Regions from separate parts of the Homo sapiens genome. Here all the other regions are linked to region 3. The links are contacts of gene promoters, found by promoter capture Hi-C in human tissues and cell types (Jung and others, 2019). All regions are on one chromosome and are shown on one strand. The core of a region is centred on a gene start or on the middle of the fragment in contact, and the rest is flanking DNA. Distances in the headings are between cores, read along the strand shown.

Region 1 (2,700 bases), core at 83-2,582, 440 kb before region 3:
ACCCTGGGGACGCGGCCCCGCCTCCGCCGACACCCAATACCTGCCTCCGCGGGCGCGCATCTCCAGGGCAGCCCCCATACACCCACAGGAGGGGGATGAAGGTCCCCCATTCGGAAGGAATTCGACCCCATCTCGAGAAGGGATCAATTACTCAAGCCCCTCCCTCCCCATCTTACCGGGGCTGAGAAACGGGGGAGGGGGGTGTGACACAGAGCCGCACTTTCTGGAAGAGGACAGATAATTCTCGCCTCCAACTCTCGGAGAAAGAGTGGATTAATCACTCGATTCCCCAGAGACCCCGCTCGCTGTGCGGCGGGGAGAAATGTAAGAGCCCCCCACCCGCGTCCCGCTCTCCGCCCCCAAGCTTTCCAAACTTCAACTCCGCAAAGCAAAAGGAAAGTTCAGTCCCCCCGGGCGCGGCGGCTTCTTACGCAACCCCTCCCCCAAACTGAGAGCCGGGCTGGGGGGCACCGGCGGGCGGGGCGACCGGGAGCCCGGGGACCCAGCCCGGCCGCGCGGGTCAGTGAAGGCGAACGCGGCGCCGCAGAGCCCACACTCCGCGCCCCAACATCCGCCCCGGCGTGGGCCAGAGGCGAAGAAGAAAGAAGATAAATGGCCCGGAGAAGCAACAGGAAACCAAAACCGACTCTATTCAAATCGAAAAATAGTAGGCAGCCCGCCCGCCCGGCCGACCGGCGGCAAGCCCCACGCGCGGCGGGTGAAGGGCGGGCCCGGAGTAGGGCCTCCGGGGCCCCAGCACCCCACACCGGCCTCCTAACTCGGCTCCAGGCACGGGCGGCGCGAGTCCGCCTCCACGGGGGGATCGAGGGGGAAGGTCGGTCCTCCCTGATCCCGGGACTCCAGAACCCCACGCCCCGGGCCGCCCGCTTTTCCCTCTCCATGCTGGCCTCCCCGCCGCCCGCTCCCAGCCGTGGGGCGCGCGCGCCGGGCGCCGCCAAAGTTTCCAAAGGGCGCGGAAAGTGGGGGCTCGCGGGTGGGTGGGCGCCTACCTCGTGCGGCGAGCGCGGGCAGCAGCGCCAGGCAGAGCAGGGGCGCCAGGAGCGGCGGCATGCCTCCCCACCGGCTGCCCTCTGCGCCCGGGCGGCGGCCTCCTGCGCTGGCCGGCGGGGCTGGGACGCACACGCGCGGCGTACGGTCCCGGGGCGGCGGCGGACGGTCCCGCCCTCTCTTCCCCGGCTGGCTGGCGGCGCTGTGCTCTCGCAGGCCCCCGGGCCCGGCTCCGCGCCCGGCTCGTTCCTTCGCTGCGCTCGCGCCCGCGCCCGCGCCCCGCGCCCCGCGCCCTTGCGCTCCCTCCCGCGGCCGAGGCACTAGTGAGGCTCAGAGTCGAGGTGCGCTCCGCCCCCGCCGGCCCCGCCCCGCCCGGCCCCACCCCCGCCGGTCCCCCCGCCCCCTCCGCGGCCACCTCCTCCCGCACGCCCCGTCCGCCTTTGCGCCTCCCCGAGCTGAGCCGCGCGTCCCGAGCCCAGCCTCTCCGGGGAGGAGGGACCCGGCGGCGCGGCGTGGGTCGGGAGCGGGCGCCTGGGACTACTTCTCGTTTGAAAGTTTTCAGAGGCCAAAAGTTTGAGCCGGGGCTGCGGAAGGATCCGGCTCTGGCGGTTGCCGCGCTCGGCGACAACTGGCGACTGAAATTTGCATGTGAATAAGCGGAGGAGCCCGGGGCGGAATGGGGAGGGCGAGGCCGCGGACAGCCGTGTGCACCGTGCGCTGGGCCGGGCGGGGAGCAGCTGAGGCCACGTTGGGGGACCCCGGGCCCGGGGCAGGGCTCTGGGAGAGTGGCCTAGCCGTGTGTGCGCCCCTAGCCCAGCGGCTTCACTCCCTCCCGAGGGCCCCGTGGCCGCGGCTTTAGGCGTCCAGAGGATCGATCGCCGCCAGACATCCCTGGCCGTGATTGCCCGAGCACTTGACCGCGAGGGATGGGGGCGCCGCGGCCTCTGGGCAGGGGACTCCGGGCGCCCCGAGGGAGCAGCCGGGACCAGTGCCTCGCGGACGGATTGTGCCCCGCTCCCCCAAGGGGGACCCGCGTCGACACGCTCCTCGGTCACCGTCCTCCTCCTGCCCGGGCGCCGCCTGCCTAAGGTGGCCCCAGAAAGCACAAACGGGTCGGGCGGATCTGCCGCTGGCGCCGGCGCAGCCCTTCCCACGTGCTCCTTCCGGCTGATTTATTTCTCCACCACGATGCCAGGCACGGGCACCCTGTGCCAAGCCTGGTTAAGCGCCAGGAGTCCAAAATGCCTGCCATAGTCCCTGCGCAAAGTTCACGGCCTCGTGCCAGGGACAGACAGCGCCCCCTCCCCACCCCAACACAGGGTGGTGAGTGCGATGGCAGAAGGCGCGTGTCCCGGCGCCCCTCCTGGAGTAGGAGGGCTAAGCCTGCCCTGCGGGGAGACCGAAAGGCTGGGAGGGACCTAGGACTGTGGGGGCCTGGGGGGAGGGCTGCAGAAACCCCAGAGCATGGTGGCAGAGGCAGGCACAGAAAGCAGGACAAATCTCACACCTGACCCCAGCAAGCCTTTCCTGGCACACCTCTTGCCAAATGCTGAGCACTCTGGAAACAGCCAGTGCAGGCGGCCTGTCCCGCCCCTGTAGCTGCTGCTGGGAGCCTCCCTCGCCTGCGTCCTCCCAGAATCTGGCCTCACTTCTGCAGGCCTGGGGTAACATCTTGGGGTCAGCGCCCCAGGA
Region 2 (2,846 bases), core at 198-2,697, 290 kb after region 3:
GACCCATAGGGCCAGGTCTTGGGGCACCCCTTGAGCGAGTCCCTTTCCTGCAGAGGGCTCTGGCCTGAGGATTTGCTGGGCCAGCCTCTGGCAGAAGCAGCTCCAGCCCTGGGTGCACTTGGAGGCAGGGCAGAGGCTTTGCTGCAGGTTTTCCAGGGCTCGGTCAGCCTGCATCTGCCCGAGGGCCTCCCCTCCAGGGTCCTCTCTGTGTCAGAAGAAGCACCGAGACTCAAAGCCTGAGGCCCCCAAAGGACCCCAACCTCCGTGCTGGGGCCACGGGGCCTGGACAGCCAACCTCCTTCCGCTCTGGTCCCACAGAGGCCGGGGAGTGGGCCCAAAGAGCACCAGCATTCCACCTGGTGTGTGCGGCCCCCGCGGCCTCGACAATTGGGGATCCGGGCCCCCGAGCACCCCTTGCACAGGGGAGGGGAGCCCTAGGCCTGGCTCCTGGAGGGGAGCGTGATAGTCCGGTGGACCCCATACCCTGGAGAGAATGGAAACCCCCAACCCACGACCGGTTTCCCTGATGGAGCCTGTCTGGTTGGGTGCAGTGTGTGAGGAATATACAGCTGGAACCATCAGGCCCGGGCTGGCTGTTGGGAGGAGTGGGGCGTCCCTGGGACTGCGGGGTCCTGAGCTGAATGCCAGCAGCACTGGTGTGGCTGGAGCGGCCACCTTGCCCCTCCTTGGAAGGCGGCTTCCAGGCTGGGCCAGGGTAGGAGGAGTCCAGGGTCCTTTAGGCAGGCCGGCAGGGGGAAGGGCCCAGAGCTCCAGCTCCTGGCTCCCGGCCCAAGTTGTTTCTAAATTTGTTCCCCAACCCCCACAGGGACCCTGAGCCGCACGTGGTTTTTTCCGTGATAGAACTTCCGTCTGTGTGTGCTGGCCTGTCCTGGGCAGGGGGCTCCAGGCTGGGGACGGAGGAAGGGGGAAAGGAAAGACAATGAGCCCACTTTGGGGGGCCCCCGATTGGGGTCAGGAGGGGAATGAAAAAGCGGGGAGAGGAGTAATAAGAGAGGGATTGGGGGTATGCAGCTCGGCAGAGGACCCTGCCCGCCCCCTGTGCTGCTGCCTTGCTCCCGCCTTGCTTACACAGGGCCTGGAGCCCCTCCCCCCAGCTGTAAGCCCTGTGTGTGGGGTGACAGGTGGAAGGGATAACCTGGGGGAGGTGGGGGCCCTGGAGGACAGGCTGAGGTGCAGGAGCCCAGGGTGGGGGCACAGCATGCAGCAGGGGCCCTCGGCCTCACCAGGTGTCCTGAGCCTGACCAAGCCAGGAGGGCTCTGAGCGCTAGAGAACTGAAGCGGGAATGTGACCTCCGGCCAGGGGATCTGGGCAAGCCGGCCAGGCCTCCCCCCTTTGGCGCCTCCGTCCAGCCCAAGTCCCGCCTGGGCCGCACCCCCTGACTCACTTCCTTTGCATAGAAGCGGAAACCTCCCCAGAGCTTCCTCTACTCCGGCCGGCCGCTCCCTGGGGACCCACAGGTGTCGCTGCCCCTCCAGGCCGAAGCTGGCCCAGGAGGCCCCTGGCCCACCCCCTCGCCCTGGGAGGCGCATTTCCTGCTTGGAGTCTCAGGCCCCAGCGTCTGGCACAGGCAGGGGCCTGCGGAGCTGAGGGCAGTGGACCAGCTGCAGGTAGGGGGTGGGTTGGGGCCCAGGGCCCAGTTCCTGCCAGTCAGTGGCTCTCTTGCTCCGACCGGCCTCTTCTTTCTGTCCATCTTTTCGTTTCACCTCCACTAGTCTCCGGGGGGCTCCCTGCACTGCTCAGCTCGTTCACTGGAGGGGTGTTGGGAGGACCCCAGTTTTGGAGTCGGGGCTGGGAGGCCTGGGTTGAGCCTGGGGACGGGGCCCGGGCCTATTCTCAAAATCATAAGTTCCAGCCAGACCCCCGCCAAGTGTTCTGGAGCGTGTGGGGGCGTCTCTGAACTCCTGGGCGCTCAGGCCTCTGCTTCCCGCGGCCCCTCCTTGGGAGACGGCCCAGTCCAGTGGGAGCCGCGGGCGGGGGCAGGGTCCGGGGGTGACTGTTCACCCCAGTGGGCGCCTGGGCGGCCACTGACTCCTTCGACGACTCCTCCAGGAAGCCGGGGCGGCCACCAGATAAGCCTCTACCCCGCCACTTCCTCAAGGCCCGCGGCCGTTTATGGGAAGACCCGAGAGATTTGCATCGGGGCCCTGCGGAGGGGCGGAGGGGCGGAGGGGCGGAGGGGTCGCTTGCCGGTCTGAGGGGCGAGGCCGCGACCAGGCCCCTGGCCCTGGGGCAGCCCGGGCCGCACCCCACGGGACTCCCAGGGGGTAAGATCACTCCGGGGACCGGTTCCGGCGGCCCGCGGGAAAGGGCAGTGGCGGGAGTCCAGAGACCCTCCCCGTCTTCCCGTTGCAGGGAGGGCGACCTGTATGCGGAGCGCCGTTCCTGCGACATGGACCGCGGCCAGCCCAGCCTGGAGCCTGCTGCCGCGGCCCCCCGAGCCTCGGGCCGGTGCGTGATCGCGCCCGTGCGCGCTGTGCTCCGCCTGCGCCGCCGGGTGTGTGTCCTACGCAAACGGCGCCTCCTGCAGCCGGGTGGGGGGCCCGACGTCGGGACCGGGGCGCCCAGGCCGGGCTGCAGCCCCCGGGCACCGCGCGCGGACCTGGACCAGCCAAAGTTCTTCACCTTCGACAGCCCCGCGGAGCTACCCTCCAGGACGCCACGCAAGAAGCGCCGGCGCAGCCGCCTGGTGCTTTACCCGGAGACCTCGCGCAAGTATCGGCCGCGCGTGGAGCACAGGAGCCGCGCGCAGCGCTGCCTTCTGCTGCTAGTCGCCATCGTGGGCTTCCAAGTTCTCAACGCTATCGAGAACCTGGACGATAACGCG
Region 3 (2,700 bases), core at 140-2,639:
CCCGGCCAGCCAGGTGACCCCCACGCTCTGGATGTCTCTGCTCTGTTCCTTCCCCGAGCCCCTGCCCCGGCTCCCCGCCAAAGCAACCCTGCCCACTCAGGCTTCATCCTGCACAATAAACTCCGGAAGCAAGTCAGTAGAGCTGGCTCCTGGCTGTCTGCGCTGTCATCACCCGTCCTGGGCCTGGCCCTGGCCACCCGGACCTCCCCCTCTAAAATCTCAGCCTGACGTCAACAAAGGAACAGGCCCTCTAGTGTTTGCTCCCAGTGGGGTCTTGAGTCAGGACAGCTAGGAGGGGGTGTCCCTCACTGTCTCCCACCCACCCCACACAGTCGTGTGCCCCTGCCCCACAGCCCCACACGTCGAGCCATACCCCCTCAGCTGCCACTGCCACCAGGCCGGTGCTGAGCTGGGGGTCAGTGACTCAGCTAATCCCTTAGGCAGGTGCCCTGCACCCCCAACGCCACCCTGTCACCCCCTCAGCAGTAAAGGCCTGAGGCTCGAGGCCCCAGAGGAGCTTTGGACCTGTTGGGTATCTTGAGGTGTGGGATTAACGCACTGAGATTGGGCAGAGATAAGGGTTTCAGGGGACAAAAAGAAACATTTGTTTGAAACATGCCAGAGTGTCTCCACCCCGCATCAGGACAGACTGACAGAGTGGGCTGGGGACAGGCTACCCCATATCCCTTCTGGCTCCCTGTGCGCCCCCTGCCCTCTGACCTGGGCCTCCAGATCACAGCCTTGTCCACTCACCAGAGCCCTGGCACCACGGCCACACCATGCCCGGCCAGTGCCCTGCCCAACCCTGCTCCCTTCCAGATTCCCACCCAGGCAGCCATTCTCAGGTACACAATGTGCAGGACTCACTGTGACCTGCCCACCAGGCCCCCCCGAGGCAGACCCTGCAGAGGCACCAAGCATTTTGAGGCTCGGAGGTGAGGGTGAGCTTCTGGGTGGCCTTCCCGGAGAAGGGGGCTTAGGGCTGTGCCTGAGCTCAAGGTAGGGGGGATTCCAACATCCCAGAGGGGCTGCAGAAGGCCGAAGAGGCAGGATGGGTGAGCTGCAGGCCCCCTAGCCCAGAGGCCCGTCAGAACTACCCTCAGCTGCCAGGCATCCGGCCCCACCCCGGAGGAAAGGCAACGGATGGCTGGGGTTGGGTGGAGGGAGCCAGGCCAGAGCGCTGCAGGGTGCAACTTGATCAGAAGCCTGTCACAGTGGGTGCAGTCCCAGGCCAGCCGCCCCAGGGCACCTCAGGGGCGTAAAGCCTACAGAGGAGCCACCTCAGCTCTGCCCTGCTCCCGTGTCCGGAGGAGATGCCATCTTGCTGCATGATGCTTCGGGCTCTGCTGATCAGTTCCCTCCTTGCCCTGCTCTGGGCATCCCCAGGCCAGGCCCAGGTCCCCATCCAGGCCAACTTTGATGCCAGCCAGGTGTGCCCAGCCCTGTTTCCTCCTCATCTCCAATGAGTCCTCCCGGCTTTGGTGCTGCACCCCGGGTCCCTGTCCACACCCTCTTTGATCCAGGCTCAGCAGGGCTAGGGGCAGGGGAAACCCCCACCTCACCCGCTCCGTCTGACTGGAGTAGGGGTTGGCTGGGGAAGACTGCAGCCTCCATCCTACCTTTTCAGTTGCATCCCCCAACAATCCCCAGGGCCCAAAATAGGGACAAGTTGGTTGCCTGTGCCTCACTGTCCCCCACCCACCCCACAAAGACCTGTGACCTTGCCACAGCCCCACCCATCCAGCCGTACCCCCTGGGTGCCAGCTGCAGACAGGCCGGTGCTGGGCTGGTGGGGGCCAGTTGCTCATGTACTGAGGCCCCCCTCCCTCAGTTCTGCATCGGGGTCGAGATGTGTACAGCAGCCCCTGCCGTGGCCAGGAAGCAGCTGTGTCGGGGCAGAATGTGGTGGGCTCAGGCCCAGGGCACAGGGGCGGCCTCCCAGCCTTCCCTGCACTTGCCCTGCAGTTCCAGGGCACCTGGTACATGGTCGGGGTGGTGTCAGATGACCAGGACTTCCTGGACTCCAAGGACACCATGAAGATGGCTGTGGTCTTAGTGACCCCCTTGGGGAATGGTGACCTGGCCCTCAAGTTTGGATACCCCACGTAAGTGACCACACGAGCCCATCAGACTCAGCCTCAGAGGATGGCCAGCATGAGGCCACATGAAGGTCCAGAGGGACCATGGTGTCCCCAGCACATTGAGGTCAGACCACGGGTCCTCGACGGCTCTGTGCGGCAGAGCCCCAGATGGCAGCCACACGGAGTCCAGAGGGACCCAGGCCCTGGAGGAAGCACTGCCTGAGGCCTGGTGTTGAGAAAAGTGTCTGCATGTCTGTGTCTGTGTGTGTATCACTGTATGTGGCTGTGTCTCTGTGTATGTGTGTCTATTTCTGCATGTGTGTGTGTCTGTGTGTGCGTGTGTATGCATGTGTGTCTTTGTAGATGTGTACCTCTGAGTGTGTATGTGTGTATCACTGTATGCGTCTGTGTGTCTGTGTGTCTGTGTATCTGTGTCTGGCTGTGTGTGTCTATCTCTGTGTGTGTCTTGTGTGCGTGTCTATGTGTGTGTCTGTCAGTGTGTCTGTGTCTGTGTCTATCTCCGTGTGTGTGCATGTGTGTATGTGTGTGTCTTCTGTGTGTCTGTGTCTGGAAGGGGGACCTGGAGGCCCTGCATTCTAGGCTGTGTGCCTGTGAACAG
Region 4 (2,836 bases), core at 184-2,683, 410 kb before region 3:
TGGTGTGTGCCTGTGTGTATCTGTGTGTGCATGTGTGTGTCTCTGTGTGTGTACTGGTGTGTGCATGTATCTGTGCGTGCATGTGTCTGTGTGCATGTGTCTCTGTGTGTGTAGTGGTGTGTGTATGTGTGTGTCTCTGTGTGTACTGGTGTGTGCATCCGTTGGAGCATGTGTGCATGTGTGTGTGTCTGTGTGCACGTGTGTGCACGTGTGTCTGTGTGCATGTGTGCATGTCTGTGTCTCTGTGTGTGTACTGGTGTGTGCATGTGTGTCTCTGTACTGGTGTGTGCATGTGTGTGTCTCTGTGTGTGTACTGGTGTGTGCATCTGTTGGAGCATGCGTGCACGTGTGTGTGTCTGTGTGTACATGTGTGCATTGTGTGTGCAAGTGTGTCTGTGTGCACTGTGTTTGTGTGTACATGTGTCTCTATGTGTGTGTGTATTGTTTGGGTGGGGGTCCCCTGCTTGCTCTCAGCCCTCTCTTGGCCCGACCCTGCATCCCTGGGCCTGACAGCAGGTGGCATTGGCTTGGGCAAGCGGAGGGGAGAGGTGACTTCTGCCCAGGTGCTGCTGGCGCCCTCCTGCCTTCCCAGGCCTGTGGGATGGGAGGCTCAGAGCAGCCCAGAACAGAGAGGAGGGGAGGGCACCCCACACAGGGCATAGGCAGCGAGCTTAGAGCAGACCCTTGGCCCTGGCTGGGCGTGCAGTCACCATGGCACCTGACACAGTCACGCCAGGGTCACACCAGGTCAGCGAGAGGTTCTTGCCACAGACACAGCGTCTCTGGACCTCTGACTCGGGTCCCCAGTCCCTAGCCCTGCTGCTACCCCCAGGTTTTGCTAGGCTGTGCCCGAGATGTGCAGACCTCCTGAACTATCAACCAGGCTGGGCAGTCAGGCCCCGGTCCCCAGCCCGGGATCATTGTCTGCCCCGCCCTTTTGTCCTCTGGCCTCCCTCACCAGGACTGACCCCCATTTTCCCCAGACTTTTTGGTGCCCCCTGCACATCTCTCCTTCCCTTGCTGGGTGGCCCTGCTGGAGCCCTTCGCCCTGTCCCCCAGGGGGCCAGTGGGCTGGCACTGCCCCACCCCGAGATGGAAGGGAAGAGCTGCCCACCCCGAGCTGGGGAATGAGCAGCTCCCGGGCCTCTGGGGGCCCTGGCCAATCCCCTGGCCCCGGCCGGTATGCTGGTTCTCAGTGCCTGGCTGCCGGGGCCAGGGACAAAGGGAAGGGTAGGGCCCTCACCCACTCCCCAGCCTCTCCACAGCCTCCACAGAAAACCTGCTTCCAGGACAGCACGACGCCCCACGGCTGGGACAGACAGGGGACAGACCCCTGTGCCCAGGGCCTCCTGGCTGCCCTGGCCTCCTTTCCCCTAGGTCCTGGCCTCTTCCCTCCTTTGTCCTCCTGAGGCCCCCACAACCCTCCCCTCCCTCGCCTGCCGTCACCCCCGGACAGGTCCCACCTCCCGGCCTTCGCACACAGTTCCTTCTGCCTGGTGTGCGTCTCCTGGGAGCCCGGGAGCCGTGGTGCTGACTCTGGGCCGGCCTCTCCTTCTGACGTTTATCGGCCGCTCACCTCCCACGCCCTGGGAGTCGTTACCACCTCCCCAGTTTCACAGACGGAGACACAGGGAGTCGTTACCACCTCCCCAGTTTCACAGACAGAGAGACAGACACAGAGACAGAGACACAGAGCCCCGACACTCAGAGCTGGGGTCAGTCCCAGGCGGCCTCAGCCACCACACCGCGCCACGCCCTCGGTGAGGATCCAAAGAGCCAACATTCTAGGGGGCTGAAGGGCAGTGTGGGGGCTTCAGGGATATTCCCCACTTGGTCCTTCCTGGCTGTCCCCACTGAGAACAGCCCTTCCTAGTCCCATTTCTGAGTGAGCTGGGGTTCCTGGAGTGAAGGCCATGGCTTCAAATGTAGGCCGGGGCAGCCTCCCCCGGGTTCCTCCTCCCCGTGTGGACAGCTCAAGTCCCTGCAGTCCCCTCCACCCTGGCCCTTCCCTGCTGTCCTGTGGGGTTTGCTGGGGAATCTGAAAGGCCTTGGAGGGAACAGGAACCAGGTCCTAGGAGCCCGCAGGGACTTCTGAGCTGCTGGCAGTCTCCCCACGCTGGCCGAGCTCACAGCCCCAGCGCTGGCCCAGAGTGAAGGTCTGCACGATGGACCCCATGCAGCCGCCCACATGGCCTTCGGCCTGTCGGTCAGGAGGCCTCGCCCTTCTCACGTCCTTAGTGGATTTCCTCCCTTCCTCTGTCCCCTTCTGCCCCATCTCAGCTTCCCATCTCCCCCACGCCCTCCCCACCTTGGGCTGAAAGCAGATACCTTCTCAGGACGGGGTCTCCTGTGCCATTTTACTGCTGAGACCACTGAGGCCAACAGAGTGGCTACAGGGTTGCTGGCAGTTGTAGCCACCCAGGTCAATGGCACTCCCGGGAATTGTGCAGTTTACAACCGGCACCACTGTGCTTGGCAGCTCTTGATGACTCCTACTTGGTGCTTAAACCTGGCCAGTCTCATCTCTCCCTACCCTCTGTGCTGACAGGCTCGAGTGACAGCAAGCGTCAGAGGCTTGGGGGTGCGGGGCCGGCCCCTTGGTGGGCTCTGCCAGCATTCTTGGGATGCCTGTGTCCATTCAGCAGTCAAGGCACTCACTATGCAAACATGCAGGGCCTCACACAATGGTCCCCGCCAGACTTTCCCACCTCCTCTCTACCCCCATTGTCCTTCCCTCTGGGGAAGGGCAGCATAGCCAGGAGGCAGAGACAGAGCCAGTGCCTTTCTGCAGGGCGGGTGTACCCAGAGATGAAGGGCCATGCACATAAGACACTGA
Region 5 (2,700 bases), core at 10-2,509, 460 kb after region 3:
TTTTCTTGAGACAAGGTCTTGCTCTGTCACCCAGGATGGAGTGCAGTGGCGTAATCTTAACTCACTGTAGCCTTGAATTCTCGGGCTCAAGTGATCCTCCTGCCCCAGCGTCCCAAGCAGCTGACACCACAGGCACGCACCACCACCACACCCCATTAATTTTTTTTTTACTTTTTGTAGAGACAGATATTCGGGCGCCCCCAGTCTAGCCACACGTATGCCCCCCAGTGGTGGTTCTGGGAATGACCAAGGTTGGCTGCTGAAGTCAGTTGTCTGGGTGAGTCAGAGTGAGACACACAGACACACTCACAGGCACGCCTGAGGGTTGGGGGGCGTTGGGGGTGGTTTTTGGGTACTTCTCAGCTCCTGGGCTCCCCAGACCTCCCTTCCCAGCCCTCAGGCCAGAAAGCAGGGGTGACAGAGCGCACAGAGACGTGGGAGATTTGGCAGCGGGAGGGGAGCTGACCCGCCTGCCTGCAGGCACCAGGACAGGTGCAGGGAGCCATCGGGGCCATCTTGCCCCTTTCAGGGACAGGTTTTATGTTTGCTGTCTCCTGCCCCCACAGAGGCAATGCTAACAGCAAGGGTGTGACCGCCACAGCTCCCTCCACCATTCCGATCATGTCTACATTATTGATTCCTGCTCACGGGGGTTTTACCTTACAGACAGGAATCACACCTCTGCTTGCCCTTAGACACTCCTGCACCCTGGCGGGAGGTCTCCACACAGCCCCCAGACCACACCCCAGGTCTCAAGGGTGGCTGCTCTGCTGGGTGCACATCCGGCCACGGGGCCACCCGGGGGGCCACTTGGGGTTGTGTAGTGAGCGTGGAAGTGCAGACCTGGGGGTCTGCACTTGAGAGCAGGGCAGGCAGGTCGCTGGGGCAGGCGGGGGCCTCCCCCGTGCTGTTCCCAGCCTGCCAGGTAGTCACGAGAGTGCATCCAGGCAGGTGGCAGGAGACATTGCACATCGATGTGAAGCGTGACCCAGTCACTTGGAACAGCTGGACCTGTTGCATCTTCCTCCTTAGCAATAAGCCTCGTGAGCATCGGATCCTTCCAGAAAAGCCATTGTGCGATCGGGCCACACCCAGATTAGCGGGCACAGCACAGCGGGGCAGTAGACACCCTCAGAAAAGGTGCCAGGGGGCGGCTGGGGCTGGACGGGCTTGTGCACTCATCAGTCACACTACTTTTAAGAGCTGTTACCAGATTACCTTAAAAAAAAAAGCTGTAACAGGCTGAGGAGGCAGGAGGATTGCTCGAGGCCAGGAGTTTGAGACTAGCCTGGGCAACAGAGTGAGACCCTGTCTCTACAAAACATAAAAGAATTAGCCAGGCGTGGTGATGCCTGTAGTCCCAGCTACTCCGGAGGCTGAGCGGGTGGGAGAATCGCTTGAGCCCAGGAGGTCAAGACAGCGGTGAGCCCCAGCCTGCGCGACAGATCAAAACCCTCTCAAATTGAAAAGGGGGTTACCTCGTCGCTTTCATTGGCCTTTCCATGATTCCTGATGGGATGAGGACTTTCTTCATGGAATTACCAGCCAGTTTCCTGCTCTGCGAATGATTTCTCCACATCTCTGCTCACTTTTCCATATCGGTTTTTGTCATTTTCTTTAGCAACATATAAAAACTCTTTAAATATTAAGGACCTTAATCACTCCCATGTGTGGCAAATATTTCTTATTTCTTCCCCAACTATTTCTGGCTGCTGCTGTTTTTGTATTTCAAGGGAGGCGAGGGCGGGTGCAGCAAAGTAGCCGAGGTTGCCCTGGTCACCGGCCCCCCGCCCTGGCCCAGCCTGCCTCCACTTGGGGCCACCTCCTTCCCCGTTGGCACTTCTGCGTCTGCTCCTGTGGGGCCACCTCCTTCTATGTCTGCTCCTGGGCCTGCTGGCTTTGACGTGTCTTCCTCCTTTCACTTCCCCCGGTGGTCATGGCATGAGGAATGGAACCTCATGGACCATACATAAGGCCCCCCAGGCCTTACTCACTCCAGCAGACCCTACGGACCGGACTGTGTGGGACAGGCATGCGGCTGGCAGCAGCCCCAGGAGCCACCTGACGGGTTAGGACTGCAGGGTCCCTGTGGCTGTTCTGGGTCTCAGAGCTCAGGTGACGGACAGATGTGCCTTTGGAGCAGTGCAGTGTGTGGGCACGTGGCGACCTCGCATGCTGTCCTACTTTGAAGAGTGCCACCCTTGAGGCCTGCACGGCAGCGTCAGCAGATTCCAGGCGGTGGCGACTTGTCTCATCAACTTTGCAGAAAGGAGACTCGGATCCCCCATGATTTCACGATATGTCACTTTCAAATAGTAACTGAATAACACAGAGTCTACAGGCATTTGGTATTTACCTAAAACTTTATACACTCAAATTGGCACCAAAACCTGCCCCCTCCCGGGACCCCATCTAGAATGCCCTGGAAGAGCTGGAGGTGGCTGACGGCTGTGTGACCACCCCCAGCACACTGGGCCTCAAGCCTGCCAGGCTGTGCCAGGCTGCGCACCAGTGGCCCCCTGACCCTAGCCCAGCTGATACGTGCTGCTCTGTCCCCCAGCCACGGGGCAGGGAACCAGCTGGCAGCCAGCCTGGCTGTGCCCAGCAGCGGTCTGGGCCCTGAGGACACCTGAGGTTGAGAGAGTGGCCCCCATCTGTGGCCACACTGCTGACTGCACACACAGTGTGGCGTGAGGGACA

Evidence for each region. The method cuts DNA at HindIII sites, captures the fragments that hold promoters and counts their contacts. A contact is called where the count stands out against the background at its distance.
Region 1: the fragment with the promoter of NOTCH1 here is called in contact with the fragment with the promoter of LCNL1 in region 3 in 1 of the 25 tissues and cell types used here (lymphoblastoid cells).
Region 2: a contact is called between the fragment with the promoter of TOR4A here and the fragment with the promoter of LCNL1 in region 3, in 1 of the 25 tissues and cell types used here (hippocampus).
Region 4: a contact is called between a fragment that was not itself captured here and the fragment with the promoter of LCNL1 in region 3, in 2 of the 25 tissues and cell types used here (aorta and spleen).
Region 5: a contact is called between a fragment that was not itself captured here and the fragment with the promoter of LCNL1 in region 3, in 1 of the 25 tissues and cell types used here (spleen).

Annotation. Positions count from the first base shown.
Region 1 is chr9:136,544,716-136,547,415 of GRCh38, forward strand. It overlaps NOTCH1 (notch receptor 1), which reads right to left and starts at 1,333. Exons shown (of 34, transcript NM_017617.5): 1 at 1,011-1,333. The coding sequence starts at 1,071. It overlaps MIR4674 (microRNA 4674), which reads right to left and starts at 1,544; the gene lies at 1,458-1,544. RefSeq lists enhancers at 168-217, 2,190-2,700 and silencers at 448-497, 718-977, 998-1,557, 1,898-1,997. The HindIII fragment of the contact is 7,823 bases long and covers 1-2,700 here.
Region 2 is chr9:137,276,279-137,279,124 of GRCh38, forward strand. TOR4A (torsin family 4 member A) reads left to right here and starts at 1,448. Exons shown (of 2, transcript NM_017723.3): 1 at 1,448-1,629; 2 at 2,375-2,846. The coding sequence starts at 2,412. RefSeq lists silencers at 1,349-1,668, 1,949-2,008. The HindIII fragment of the contact is 16,896 bases long and covers 1-2,846 here.
Region 3 is chr9:136,981,604-136,984,303 of GRCh38, forward strand. LCNL1 (lipocalin like 1) reads left to right here and starts at 1,390. Exons shown (of 3, transcript NM_207510.4): 1 at 1,390-2,105. The coding sequence starts at 1,984. PTGDS (prostaglandin D2 synthase) reads left to right here. Exons shown (of 7, transcript NM_000954.6): 7 at 1-139. The HindIII fragment of the contact is 9,863 bases long and covers 1-2,700 here.
Region 4 is chr9:136,569,629-136,572,464 of GRCh38, forward strand. No RefSeq gene overlaps it. Among named protein-coding and RNA genes, the nearest start is that of NALT1, 23 kb to the left of the region's middle. RefSeq lists enhancers at 1-2,836, 1,177-1,704, 2,231-2,758, 2,759-2,836. The HindIII fragment of the contact is 8,565 bases long and covers 1-2,836 here.
Region 5 is chr9:137,445,226-137,447,925 of GRCh38, forward strand. NSMF (NMDA receptor synaptonuclear signaling and neuronal migration factor) reads right to left here. Exons shown (of 16, transcript NM_001130969.3): 16 at 2,345-2,700. Among named protein-coding and RNA genes, the nearest start is that of MIR7114, 3.5 kb to the right of the region's middle. The HindIII fragment of the contact is 6,315 bases long and covers 1-2,700 here.